2 separate regions of the Homo sapiens genome follow, and region 1 is linked to region 2. The links are contacts of gene promoters, found by promoter capture Hi-C in blood cells and fetal thymus (Javierre and others, 2016). All regions are on one chromosome and are shown on one strand. The core of a region is centred on a gene start or on the middle of the fragment in contact, and the rest is flanking DNA. Distances in the headings are between cores, read along the strand shown.

The links. The method cuts DNA at HindIII sites, captures the fragments that hold promoters and counts their contacts. A CHiCAGO score of 5 or more calls a contact.
Region 1: a contact is called between the fragment with the promoter of ANKRD39 here and the fragment with the promoter of ASTL in region 2, in 3 of 17 cell types (naive CD8 T cells, monocytes and total B cells). The highest score is 5.9, in naive CD8 T cells.

The regions. Positions count from the first base shown.
Region 1 is chr2:96,856,673-96,864,256 of GRCh38, forward strand. ANKRD39 (ankyrin repeat domain 39) reads right to left here and starts at 1,344. Exons shown (of 4, transcript NM_016466.6): 1 at 1,216-1,344. The coding sequence starts at 1,315. SEMA4C (semaphorin 4C) reads right to left here. Exons shown (of 15, transcript NM_017789.5): 10 at 7,566-7,584; 11 at 7,254-7,476; 12 at 7,010-7,122; 13 at 5,065-5,222; 14 at 4,907-4,977; 15 at 3,046-4,783. The coding sequence ends at 3,954. RefSeq lists silencers at 1,005-1,174, 1,205-1,874. The HindIII fragment of the contact is 20,079 bases long and covers 1-7,584 here.
Region 2 is chr2:96,136,194-96,142,764 of GRCh38, forward strand. It overlaps ASTL (astacin like metalloendopeptidase), which reads right to left and starts at 2,309. Exons shown (of 9, transcript NM_001002036.4): 1 at 2,189-2,309; 2 at 1,382-1,507. The coding sequence starts at 2,243. RefSeq lists enhancers at 2,164-2,233, 6,397-6,466 and silencers at 3,124-3,213, 5,187-5,236, 5,297-5,346. The HindIII fragment of the contact is 4,955 bases long and covers 1-2,866 here.

The DNA of each region.
Region 1 (7,584 bases), core at 94-2,593, 720 kb after region 2:
ACAACCCAAAATGTCTCCAGATATTCAAAGTCCCTTAAAGGGCAGAACTGCCCCCAGTTGAGAACTGGGGTGTTTAGGGAGGGTCTCTGAGGAGATGACATTGGAGCTGGGATCTGAAGAAAAGCATCAGCTAGCTTAACGGTTGTAGGAAGTTCATTCTAAGGAGATGGGACAGCAAGTCCAACGGCCTTAACTCAGGAAAAGGTCTTGCATATTTGAGACACCAAAACAAGACCAGTGTGGCTGCGGCGTAGTGATTGGGGGAAGAAAAGCATGAGAAATAAAATGAGGAGGAGAAGTAGAACCGGCAGGGGTGGGTCTACAGAGCTTTGTAGGCCATAACAGGGAATGATGTGATTTCTAATTTTCAAAAAGCCGCTCTGGCTGCTATGTGAGAGTAGAAAACCCTGTAGGAAGGCAAGCGTGGAAGCAGAAAGACCCTCTGAGGCAACCACTTCAGCAGTGCAGAGGACAGCGGTAGGAGGGGCGGAGGGAAGTAGGCAGGTGCCAGAACCACGGTAAAGGAAGAGTTCCATGAGAATGCTTACACAGCAGTGGCAATCGAGGGCTGCATCCGCAAGGGCAGATGACACAGCACAGTGGTTCCCAACGCTCACAAGAAGCACCCTGGTTTCCCGCCTTCCTCTGTTCCTATTGGCACCATAATCTCTGTATAATCTGGGCCAAACGTGTTACCTCTCTGGGTCCCACAGATGAGATACTGTGCCCTGCCTCGAAGGCTGCCCGTGCGAAGCTCTTGCCATCTTTAAAGCATGCAGGCTGCCTGGCACCCGGGGCTAAACAAAGGCCACTGCTCTCCTTCACCGCGCAGCCCCCAGGCCTGCAGCTCCATGCCCCTCAGGTTGGGTGCAATGCCCCTGGTGCAGATTCTGCTCCCCGGGCCCTCTCTCAAACACCTGAGCAGGCTTGTGTCTCCCAGGGGAGGTCGTCCCCCGCTACTCGGGAGGGTTACGGAAACCAGTGCTTCCGCTTCCCCGCCGCCCGCGGGACAGGTGTCTCCTGGCCGAGCTCGTGCGGGGCCCTGGGAGGCTCTCAGTACACGGGAACCGTGGGTCCCGCCCGCCTTCCCGCACCAGGCCCCAAGCCCCAAGCCCCAAGCTCTCGGGGCCCCGTTCATCCGCCTCTCCTTGGCCCCACGCCTCCTCCTTGGGCCGGGGCCTGGTGAGAACCACGAGGGCCGCGCGGCAGCCTCACCCCTCTCGAAGTCCATCTCCTCCAGCGTCTGCTGTACGCCGAGCACCGCGCTGGGATGCGAGCAGCAGGGCCCGTCCGCGCAGGGCCGAGGCGTCGCCATCCCGGCCCCGGCGTCAGTCGATCCGCCCCGGGTCTCAGGCTCAGCCTCGGCGGGAGGGGCGGACGCAGGGCCCGCCCCGCGTCCCTGATCTGGCCGCTCGGCGTCCGCGGCTGTCGCCCTAGTCCCGCCTTCTCGCCAAAGCTGACCAATCAAACGCCTAGGCCTTAGCTCGAGAACCAATTGCAACGGTAGGGCGGGGCTTGTTGCGCCCGGCCGTGCCCCGAGGCCTCCGCGCGAGGGCGTCCAAGGCCAAGCGAGGACTGAGGCGCTGGGTTCCGGGAGCCGCGCGCCGCTGGAGGGCCGCCGGGCCGCCTGGCCTTGCAGGGTGTGGGGATGAGGCAGCTGGGTCCGGTCGGGAGCTTTCCCGTTACCTTCGCCATGACCCAGCCGTCCAGCGACCTCGCAGCCTCCTCTCTTTACCGCCCCTAGTCCCTAGGGCAGGGAGGCGCCACGCGCTCCGCGGTCTTTTTTTTTTTTTTTTTTTTTTTTGAGACGGAGTCTCGCTGTCACCCAGACTTGTGTGCAGTGGCGCGATCTCGGCTCACTGCAACCTCCGCCTCCCGGGTTCAAGCGATTCTCCTGCGTCAGACTCCTGAGTAGCTGGGACTACAGGCGCCCGCCACCACGCCCGGCTAATTTTTTGTATTTTTTAGTAGAGACGGGGTTTCGCCAGGATGGTCTCGATCTCTTGACCTCGTGATCCGCTCACCTTGGCCTCCCAAAGTGCTGGGATTACAGGCGTGAGCCATCGGGCCGGGGCGCGCTCCACGGTTTTTAGCCCCTCTTCCTGGCACCACCCCGGACCAAGGCCGACCGCCCCCGGGGCAGCGGCAAAGTGACGGCTGGAAAGGCCTCGAGACGCCCCTCCCCGTACCCTGCTCTTCCTTACAAGTCCAGCAAGGGGCAGGTGGCCACAACTTGTCCTGCCTGTAGCTCCACCTCAGGGCAGGGGCAGGGCCTTGGTTTGTGCAGAACCCCCTGGCCCCACAGTGGGCGCTGAGTTTACGGAATCGGTCTTCATGATCAAAACCCACCGGGAGGCCGTCTGCGGACCGCGCACCTTCGCAGCGTGCTCCTCAGCGGACCCCAGCCTTCTCAATTCCCAGTTAAAACCCAGGCAGCTGCCTGCTCAAGCCACGATCAAGTGTACAGGGGAGACCGCCTGATCGGCTTAGAAAGAGTGCATGAACGACAGAATGCAGGTTGGGTTCTGTGCCAGTCCCTCTCCAGGACAGTGGTCTGGTGCACACTGGATGTAAGTTCCTTCCCCCGCTAGTTGGGGCACGGAAGACCCTAGCATTCCTGGTGGGTAGAAGGCTGGAAGTCGTTTCTCCTCCCCTAAGCAGGTTGAGAACCCCATCCTCACACAAGCAATGATCTCATCTCCACAACCTTCCACTCCTTTGGCCCCTCATTCCCACTACCCGTCTTGAGTTCTGGGAAGGCACCCCCCCCACCACTCCGCTTCTCCCCTGGACTCCCAGTGCCCTGACTTCTCCTTCTGGCCAGAAGCCAAGGCTGGCTCCCAAGGGGCTATGGCCATGGTCTCGTTCCCAGCCCCGCAGCCACCACTGTGGGAAAACACTAGAGCTGGGCTGTCCCCTCCCACAGGCAGGCAGGGACCACAAAAGTGGTGGCTGCCCTGGGATTGTGGGGGAGGCCCAGTCCAGCCTCCCTCCACCCAGAGAGCCTTCCCTCTTGGTACCCAGAAAGGCTTTAGCCCAAACATCTTAGCCCCATCAGAGCAATCGTTTCATTTTCTCCATTTTATTTGTCAATATAAAAATACTCAAATATTTACAACAAATAAATACGCGGGGACACAATAAGTTACACTGTTAGGAGCCCTCCTCCTAGGGCTGGAAGAGAGTATGCCATTGTCCACAGCAGGCCCACCCTCTCCCTTCTCTCCCCTCACACAGCCTTTCCCAGCCCTGTACAGGAAGAAGGCAAGTATAAAATACCACTGAACCCCGGGGCCAAGTGGGAGGCCCCACCCACCCTTCCCCCCAAACACACAGGAGGCTCCATCTCCCTCCCCCCACCCTGAAAACATTCACAGCCCTAGGAGCAGGACTAGGCCCACCCCAAGCCCTGCACTCCCTCTGAAGGGGCACAGCACCCTGTCCACCCCACCTCCATATGTACATCGCTGCCCGACACTCGGGGCAGTGGGGGTAGGAGAGACAAAGTGATACGACCCCTTCCCCTTCATAGCTCCAATGACTCACCAGGAGGACCCAGGCCAAGGGAAGACTTGACAGAAACAGGAAGGCTATGCCACAAGCGCGCACGCGCGTGCACACACACATACACACACACACAAACACATGTGCAAATACAGACAAACACACATCTTGAAACTTCTGCCTTGAAAAGTTTTGGCGGCTGGGGTCCCGCGTGTCTGTGATTCACAGAGAGGAGGAAGATGCCTTCTGCGAGGCTGGTGCCCTGGTGAGCCACACCAAGTGGCAGTGCCCGTGCTGAGCAGAGCAGGTCCTCATGGCCGGGTGGGTGCTGGGCAGTATCTGTCCCAGACAGAGCAGGTGCCCGTGCCATGTCCCTGAGGTAGCTGGTGCCTGTGCAAAAGTAGGAGCTACACCTCCCACGCTTCCCGCCGACGCGGTGGGGGTTCCCCTCATACTGATGACTCCTCGGGGTTGGAGTCGGGCAGTGGCTGGCGTTGCTGCAGTTTGCGTCTCAGTTCATCCGCGAGCTCAGGCAGGGGGTGCCCGAGCCCTCCCCGGTCCTCCCCTCCTAGTTGTAAGCGCACGTAACCATTGGCATTTGAGTTCCGCCCACCCCCCAGGTGAAGCCGAGTTGGAGAAGGCAGAGGCTGGCCTGGGATGCCTGGAGGTGGCGAAGGGGGCCCCCCACCGGGCTGGCACCGGGCATGCCCAGGTACTATCTTAAGGGAGCCATCTGAATAGTAGTAACCGACAGGATCCCAAAGTTTCTCATCTGGTTCAGGACAGGGCCGGAAGGGGGGACTGGTGGGCTCCTTGGGCAGCTCCAGGGGGTACACCAAGGTCCTCTCAGTAGCCTTGGCCCCTTTCTCCAGCTCTTCCCGCAGCCGCCGGCGCAATGACAGCACCAGCAGCAGCAGCACCAGGCACACAGCCCCCAGGGCCACCACCGCCAGCCACACCAGCCCCAGGTTTTCCAGGGGGGCCCGGGCCTCCAAGGTCACCGACGGGCCTGCCACGACAGCCACAAGGTAGCCTTCAGCAGCCAGCCGCGCCCCCTGCTCCTCTGAAAAGCAGTGGTAGGCCCCGGCATGGCGGGGCTGGGCAGCCATCACAACCAGGGCCTGGAGCCGGGCATCGTAGAGGAAGGACCCGGGCTGTTCCGCAGGCAGGTCCCGGCCCCCAAAGGTCCAGCGGGCATGGGCCAAGTTGGAGGAGAGGTGGCAGGGCAGCACCAGGTCTGTGCCCGCCACCACCGTGATGTTTTTGGGAGTGGGCCTGACTGTAGTGGCAGAGAAAACAGAGTGCATGTTAGTGCAGGAAAGCAGGGCTGGGGAAGAGGAGAACAGAAACTCCAGCTCTGGTCCAGGGCTCAGCCCGATGCGACGGGAATGAAAAAGCTCACCTTTCTTACTGCCACGGAGGTTGCAGATGCCTGAAGTGTCCGAGGTCATCACATGCTGGATCAGTAGAGATCTGGTAGGGGATGTAGGGTACATCAGCAGCCTGGCTCCAACCACCCTGAGTCCCTGGAGGTCCTGGCCTATGTAGAGCCCAACTCACCCAGAGTGGCCACCCACGGCCACACAGCGGCTGGTGTTGACGCTCCAGGCGCAATAGGGGTCCCGGGCGAGGACACAGTCTGCACAGGAGCGATACTTCATGCAGTCGGCCACGGGCAGCTGCACCAGCTGAGAGCGGGAGCCGGCAAAGAGCAGCTTCTGCGAGAAAAGCGGGGCGCAGGAGGGGGGTCGGCCAGGGCCACACCACGGGAGGGGCGGCCGGACCAGAACGCAGCATGGGGACAGCTTGGACTCCTGCAGGGGGCACAGCACGGGGCGCCAGAAGGAGGAACAAGGGAACAAGGCAGAGCTATAGTGCTGAAAAGGGAACTCTAAGAACCGCAGAACTCAGAGGGCTTACACAGGCCAGATGCAATCCTAAGCCCCTTATCGACGTGACGTTATTAGAAAGGGATGATGGGGCTGTGAGGCCAAAAAGTATAATCACACACACTCACACACACATAGTGCAGGAAATACATTTCAAGGCCCATCAGCCCTCACAACAGCAGCAGCATAACATAAGATGTTTTCCTGTTTCAACGGTGGATGCCAATCTGTGTGTTTATTCAACCACACACTTTCTTTCTGCCATTATTCCATGTTCTAGGGGACAATTTTGAGTCATAATAGCTGGTAAAAGGCAAACAAATCAAAGTTCAGGAGGTGTAGCAAACATGCCACAAGAGTATTGCACAAGGCAACTAGGAACAGCAGGTCATGCCTGGAATCCCAGCACTTTGGGAGGCTGAGGTGGGCAAATCACTTGAGGTTAGGAGTTCAAGACCAGCCTGGCCAACATGGTAAAACCTTGTCTCTACTAAAAATACAAAAATTAGCCGGCTGGCCAGGCGCAGTGGCTCACGCCTGTAATCCCAGCACTTTGGGAGGCTGAGTCGGGCGGATCGCAAGGTCAGGAGATCGAGACCATCCTGGCTAACACGGTGAAACCCCGTCTCTACTAAAAATACAAAAAATTAGCCAGGCGTGGTGATGGGAGCCTGTAGTCCCAGCTACATGGAAGGCTGAGGCAGGAGAATGGTGTGAACCTGGGAGGCAGAGCTTGCAGTGAGCCGAGATTGCGCCACTGCACTCCAGCCTGGGTGACAGAGCGAGACTCCATCTCAAAAAAAAAAAAAAAAAAAAAAATTAGCTGGGCATGGTGGCACGTGCCTGTAGTCCCAGTTACTTGGGAGGCCGAGGCAGAATTGCTTGAACCCGGGAGGTGGAGGTTGCAGTGAGCAGAGATCATGCCACCGCACTCCAGCCTGGGCGACAGAGTGAGACTCCATCTCAAAGAAAACAAAAACAAAAACAAAAAACCTTTAGCTGGGCATAGTGGCAGGCACCTGTAATCCCAGCTACTCAGGAGGCTGAGGCATAAGAATAGCTTCAACCTGGGAGGTGGAGGTTGCAGTGAGCTGAGATCGCGTCACTGCACTCTAGCCTGGGTGACAGAGTGAGACTCCATCTCAAAAAAAAACCAAAAAGAGTATTGCACAAGGGTATAATGCAAGCACTTCAGGGAAACAGTCACGGAAATGGGGGCTGGAAGGAAAACCACCATGGTGAGGGCATCATAAACATCTCACAGCCTGGGAGGTCTGGTCACAGGGGCATGGTCAGGGAAGAGGCCAGAGCCAGAACCACAGCACAGCTTGGAGGGTCTGAAAGAAACATGGGAGCAGTTGCCAAGGCTTGATGCTGGGAGCGCAGCCCCGTGACCTGGCTATATATAATGGCCCTGTGCAGTGCAGATTCCATTCTGTTTTCATTCTCGTTTCCAGGAACCCACCCCAAGTTAGGCAAGGTGTGCATCCACATGTGTGTGTGTTCCTAACTCTGCACTGGCCAAGCACATAGGCCCAACTGGGAGAAGCAGCCAGATGGAGAGAGTGAGATGGGATAGTGCTGGGGACAGTGGCAGATAGGGCCCAACTTACTACCTTGCTCTGAGATAGCACCAGGCTTCTCATGGGCTCCTGGTCAAACAGCTGCAGCTCCTCAATCAGGTGAACCCAGGGCCCCAGGCTCACAGCCTTGAGCAGCCAGCCGTCTCCTGGGGGGTGCAGAGGAGAAGGTGTAAATGAGAGGGCACAAGGCCGTGGGGCAGCTCCAAATCTCCCTGCCCTGGGCACACGGGCTTCTGCCCAGCCTTGAGCAGCCATGCCTGCATACCCATGCACCCACCTGTGCCAATGAACAGCACTGTATAGGTGGCTCCATCAAGTCCTGTAACCCGGTCGGCCACCAGGTGGGTGAAGTTGGTGCCCTTCTTCACGAGCAGGGGGCGGCTCCACCGAGGCCCCACCTGCTCCTCCATCAGCGGGTGCTTCTTGACGAAGTTGAGGATGTTGTCGGGTAGCTCCAGGGAGCTGGTGTAGCCGTGGCGCCGATGCCAGTTGTTAATGCACTGGGGGCAGGGTGTGGGGGGCAGGCCATCAGCAGGGTGGGATGGCACCGCAGCTGGGTGGGGAGATGCATCCCTGCCCTAGCACTCACCGAGCCAGGCCGAGGGCTG
Region 2 (6,571 bases), core at 1,059-3,558:
GGGCGCTCCAGACCACAAATGACACCGCTGACTTGTACCACCTTTAGGCAGGAGCCAGACTCCTGTCCCTTAGAAGTCACAGTAGGCCACCTTGGGCAGACAAGGGAGTAGCCCCCGGGCATCTCTGGCTGAGGCAGCTCCTTCTGGCCAAGGGCCAGTTTTGGGAGGCAGACAGCTGTGCAGCATTAGCCATATTCACAGTGGCTGGAGATGGGCAGGTGCTTCCCAGGAAAGCACTGGGTAAGGCACGGGCAGCCCTTATGAGACAGCCTCACCGTAGGTGATAGGATAGTTGTTGGGGTCACCAGCATTTGGGAGTTTTCTCCATTGGTTCTGGTTACCTGCAGACCACTCACGGTGATCCAGGGGTGGGATGGTGCCTGGGGCTCAAGGCTCAGCTGGCGCTGGGCTCCCAAGTCAGCTCACAGAGGAAGAAGGGGGCAGATCACACAGTGGCTACCACATCTGGTAGGATCTCACCCACCCTTAGGGCAAGGTTGTCCCCTGTTCAGCCCGATTGCTTCAACCCTGAGTGCTTCAGCCCTCATTGCTCCAACATCTGAACTCCAGTCTCCATTTCAACTGGCTTTGTTCAGGCTATTTATACACCCTCATTCCTCAGCTGACATCCCCAGACAGCAAGGCCCTGAGCCTGACTTTTGTTTTTTGTTTTTTGTGAGATGCTCTGTCGCCCAGGCTGGAGTGCAGTGGCGCAATCTCAGCTCACTGCAAGCTCCGCCTCCCAGGTTCATGCCATTCTCCTGCCTCAGCCTCCTGAGTAGCTGGGACTACAGGCGCCCGCCACCACGCCCGGCTAATTTTTGTATTTTTGGTGGGGACGGGGTTTCACTGTGTTAGCCAGGATGGTCTCGATCTCCTGACCTCATGATCTGCCCGCCTCAGCCTCCCAAAGTGCTGGGACTACAGGCGAGAGCCACCGCACCCAGCTGAGCTTCAGACTTCTTAATCACACCTGCAGACAGTCCTGCACAGGGTGGCTGACAATCTCAGACTGCGACTAACCGCTTAGCTCCACGCCCAGGCCCTTTAAGAGCTTGGTTTTTCTTATAAAAGTAACAATCCACTAAGAAAGATACAAAAAGAAAGAGTAGACTTAAGCAATTGCCCATAGAATTTCCACCCATTCACACCTGTAGTCCCAGCTGCTCGGGAGGCAGAGGCAGGAAGATCACTTAAGGCCAGGAGTTCAAGACCAGCCGGGGCAATATAGCAACACCACTCCATCTCTTAAAAACCACTTAGAGCCCAGAGTAAGCTGGTCCATTTCCTCCCAGGCTCTGCATTTCTGAGTGTTCGGTGTGGTTTTCACACTACATAACGTCGTGCCCCTCCAGGCCGTGAGAAGATGTAGTGCCCTCACCTTGGTTAATTGCAGGAATGTCCTTGTCCCCGGAGGCCTGGGTTCCCTCAGGGGTGAGGCCATCTGGGAAGCTGGTACCACAGGCTCCTGCGCAGCTGGAGGCCAGGGGCGCTCCTAGGATCACACCTGGTCCAGACAGACAGGGGCATACACAGATGCCTGGAGCACCCACCGGTGAGACCAGACAGCAGGACATGGGGTGGGTGTGGGGGATCAGACGGTAAGACTCAGTCCCTAGGAAGAGTAGGCTCCAGCACAAAGCCAAGGAGCCTTCCCAGCCTCCCTGCTCAACCCCAACTGGTGCCAAGGTCTAGATGACCTCAGGGAAGGAGCTCCCTTAGGGGGACCAAAAGGGACCATGTGCCCCACCTATGAGGTAGAGGAGGGGCAGGAAGGAAGGAGGCAGGACAGACCTCGGGTTCTGACGCCCGTGACGGGCAGGGCCAGCCTCAGACCCCACCTTATGACTCTCTCTCAGCCCAGGCTCTTGGACAATGGGCTCAGCCTGGATGACTCCCTGCCTGACCAGGCTGGAGTGGGGACTTACAGCCTACCCCCACCCCAAGACAAGTAGGCCTGGGGCACAACACTTATCTTCTGCCAGGCAGGCCCTCTGCTTCCAGGGCCTTCAGGAGGCCTCCCCTTGGCCCCCCAGGAGCTGACTTCTAGAATAACCCTGGAGAGCTCTGTGCTCTGAGCTACTGAGCTCAGCTACAATCCCTGCAGGCTCCAGCCACAACCTTCTAGCCTCTCCCCAGCTTTCTCCAGGCTGGAGCCAGCAGCAGGAGGGACAGGCAGCCAGCTTACCTGGCAAGGAGAGCAGACCCAGCACCCAAGGCCAGAGACCCCCTACACCCTCCATGGTAGAGCCCTGCTGCCCCTTCAGCAAACAAGACCAAGCCCCAGCAAGACACAGTAACCTAATTGCAGAACCGGCACCACCACCCCCTCTTAAATAGCAGCTGCTCCACCTCCCACCTTGCTCCCCTCAACCGCCTCCACCTGCAGCCCCGCCCCAACCACCTCCACCTGCAGCCCCGCCCCAACCATCTCCACCTGCAGCCCCGCCCCAACCACCTCCACCTGCAGCCCCGCCCCAACCAGCTCCACCTGCAGCCCCGCCCCAACCAGCTCTACCGGCAGCGCCACCCAAACCAGGTCTACTGGCAGCCCCTCCGATGCCTACCTGTGGTTCCCACCCCAGCCCAGTCCCCTTCCTGGCTGTAGCAGGTGAAAGACAGGAGGGGCCCGCTTGGGAGTGTGGCTCTTCTGAGGTTCCTTCCTGCCTCCAGGGGGCAGAGAAACATCGCAGAAAGTTGCTCCAGGCCTAGCTGAGGCCCCAGCCCAGGTATAGACCTATTCCTCCAGCGAGGGAGACCCCCTTTCCTACCCCGGCCTGTGCTTAGACATGGGGAAAGCTGCCTGAGACCCTGGGGCGCCCCCCGTGTATCTCCGGAAGGAGGAAAAGGTCACTGCACTTTCACAAGCTTTTATTTTAGTACACATATAGAAAAGTTCACTATCACAAGCACAGGGCTCCAGGAAATTTCACAAACTGAACAGTGTGCAGCACCCTAGAAAGCCTGCCATGTGGGAAAGGTGGAACCCCCAGATGCCCAGAGCCTCGCAGGGAGTCCACCCCCTAATCCCACAGCAGCTGGCATGATCAGTCAGTATTTATTCCCATTTCACAGATTTGGAAATTTAAACTCCTTACCTATATCCCCCCTCCTCCATACCCCTGAGCCCCAGAGCCAGGTCACTCAGGGCCCCACCTGGATTGAAATCCCAGAGGCGGAGCATGTCAGCGCTGGGCAGCATTTGGGGACACCCCCACAGTCACCTGCACCCAGTGAAGGGAAGCGACAGAGCCAAGAAGAATAGCTATTGTCCACAAGGACCTTTCAGCATTCCCACTGTGCCTGGAATCCAGAGCTTCTCCAAAGATAGGAATCAGAATCACAGGGAGACCATGATGGAGGCAGACGCCCTGCTGCCAGGGCAGGGTATTGACAGATGTCAGGATACACACCATGGATATGCTAGTTAGCTTGTTGTGGTCATCATTTCACAAGGTATGCATATGTCAAAACATCACGTTGTATACTTAAACATATACTACTTTTATTTGTCGATTATGCCTCAGTAAACCTAGAAAAAATAAGTAAAATAAAGAATAGGACCCATCAAAAAACAAATGCACAAGGCTGACCACTTAAGATGAGTGTTCAGGAGGGCGCGGTGGCTCACGCCTATAATCCCAGCACTTTGGGAGGCCAAGGCAGGTGGATCACGAGGTCAGGAATTCAAGACCAGACTGGCCACCATGGTGAAACCCCATCTCTACTAAAAGAATACAAAAATTAGCTGGGCACGGTGGCGGGCACCTGTAATCCCACCTACTCGGGAGGCTGAGGCAGGTGAATCACTTGAACCCAGAGGTGGAGTTTGCAATGAGCCAAAATCGCGCCACTGCACTCTAGCCCGGGGGACAGAGTGAGACTCCATCTCAAAAAAAAAGATGAATGTTCAGTAAAAAAAAATAAAGTAGACCGGGCGCAGTGGCTCATGCCTGTAATCCCAGCATTTTGGGAGGCCAAGGCAGGCAGATTACTTGAGGTCAGGAGTTCGAGACCAGCCTAGCCAACACGGTGAAACCCCATCTCTACTAAAAATACAAAAATTAGCCAGAAATCCCTTGAACTCAGGAGGCAGAGGTTGCAGTGAGCCAAGATTGTGCCACTGCACTCCAGCCTGGGCAACAGAGTGAGACTCTGTCTCAAAAAACAAAAGAATTAAAATAATGATAAGAAATAATCACCCTGCTTGGGGAGAGAAACAGAGTCTTTATTAGGACATGCAGTTGGTCTGAGGATATTTTGCTGAGCGAAACAAGCCAGTCACAAAAAGACAAATCCTGCATGCTTCTACCTCCAAGAGGTGTCTAGAGTAGCCCAGTGCACAGGGACGGAAAGTGGAACGGAGCTCACAAGGGGCTGGGGACTGGGGAGGGGAGTTATCATTTAATAGGTATAGGATTTCAGGTTCGCAAGATGAAAAAGCTCTGGATATCTGTGCACAACGATGTGAATACACTTTACTAAACACTTGATAATGGTAAAGATGACCAATTTTATGTTGCATTTTTTACCACAATTAAAAGTTTAAAAATTTAATAAATAGGAAAGAAGGAAAGGAGGAAAAGAGAGAGAAAGAGAAGGGCAGTTTGCTAGATGACAAGCTATAAAAAGCACGGGGAAGGAAGGAGAGGGGATTGGGGCTGGGTAGGGTGGGATGGGGTAGGGCCAAGGGTGGGGGGTGGGCAGAGGCCTCAGCCACCAGTGCAGCTGTGTGTGAGATGAGGCTGTGTGGTGTGAAGTCCCCTATGACTTAGAGCCCCAGATGTCCCCCACCCACCCAAGCTGGGCATGGGGGTACAAGTGGGTCCCAACAGATGCCTACTCAGCTCCTAAGGAAGGCAGAATAGCAACCCCGGCTCTGCCCAGTTCACACTGGAGTGGCTCACCCCACCCCTCAGACAGCAGTGGGAACAAGAATCACCCTTCATTCGGCCTCACAGAGTGAGCGCCCACCTGTGCCAGGCTCCAGGCACAAGGCTGAGTGGACCCCAGGCCCAGCCGTTATGAGTGTCCATCCTGGTCCAGATGCACACCTCGCATGTGCACACCGGCACATCAGATCAACCTCACTCCTAGGGCCGTAGTTAGCTAACATTTTCGGAGCGCCTACTATGAGCAGGCACTACATGGATTGACTTGTGTAAGTCTACATCCTCAGAGGTGGGGGCTAACAATGAAACTCCATTTTACAGACAAGAAAACTGTATACAGCAAGGTGAAGCAAAACCAGCCCCCGGACTGTCAAACTACACTGCCCTGCCCCACAAGCACACCCTCCCAGGCATTCAGAATGCCGTAAGACAGCAGTTCCCAACCTTTGTGGCACCAGGGACCGGTTTTTGTTTGTTCCTCTGTTTGAGATGGAGTTTCACTCTTGATGCTCAGGCTGGAGTGCAATGGCGCAATCTTGGCTCACTGCAACCTCCACCTCCCAGGTTCAAGCAATTCTCCTGCCTCAGACTCCCAAGTAGCTGGGATAACAGGCGCCCGCCACCATGCCTGGCTAATTTTTGTATTTTTAGTAGAGGCGGGGTTTCACCATGTTGGCCAGGCTGGTCCCGAACTCCTGACCTCAGTTGATCCACCCATCTCGGCCTCCCAAAGTGCTAGGATTAGAGGCATAAGCCACCATGCCTGGCCCAGGATGGTGAGGGGGATGGTTTCTAGGTGATTCAAGTGCATTACATTTATTGTGCACTTTATTTCTATCATTACATTGTAATCTACAATGAAATAATTTTATACAACTCACCATAATGTAGAATCAGTGGGAGCCCAGAGCTTGTTTTCCTGAGACTAGACGGTCCCATCTGGGAGTGATGGGAGACAGTGACAGATCATCAGGCATTAGTTAGAGTTTCATAAGGAGCATACATCCTATATCCCTCCAATGCAGTTCACAACAGGGTTCAAGCTCCTATGAGAATCTAATGCCACCGCTGATCTGATAGGAGGCGGAGCTCAGGCAGTAATGCTAGCAATGGGGTGCGGCTGTAATACTGATGAAGCTGCTCACCTCCGGCTGTGCAGCCCAGTTCCTAACAGACCACGGACAGATCCTTAGAGGTAGCACTGTGCAGAGACAACCCTTGGCTGGATGACACTCCAAATGGCCGAGTGTCCCAGTGAGCCTGAAGCAGGACTGGCTCCCGCACAACCATTTCCAAAGGCCTCAGCACCCCTGCTCACAGGCAGATCACAGCACCCCCTCCCGGCAGCGTCGGCAGGTACCCCTTGGCTTCTGGCGTGGGCGGGGCCCTGGTCTCAGGTCTCCACTGAACCTTAGTCCTATGCTGGGCCCGTAATTGAAGCTCGGCCAAGATGTGCTAGTTGGGTGGGTGTGCAGAGCAATGAATCCCATCCCTGGTGACAGGTCCTCTGCACCAGACACAGGGCCACATGCCTTTGGGGGACATGAAGGAGCTCTGGAACAGGGGACGCTGTGAGCCCCAGCCCTGGGATGTGGGAGAAGAGTAGGGAGGCCATGCAGGCCTGCTGTGAGGAAGTAGAGACCCACACGGCCTGGGAAGTGCCTCTTGTGTGGGCGTGC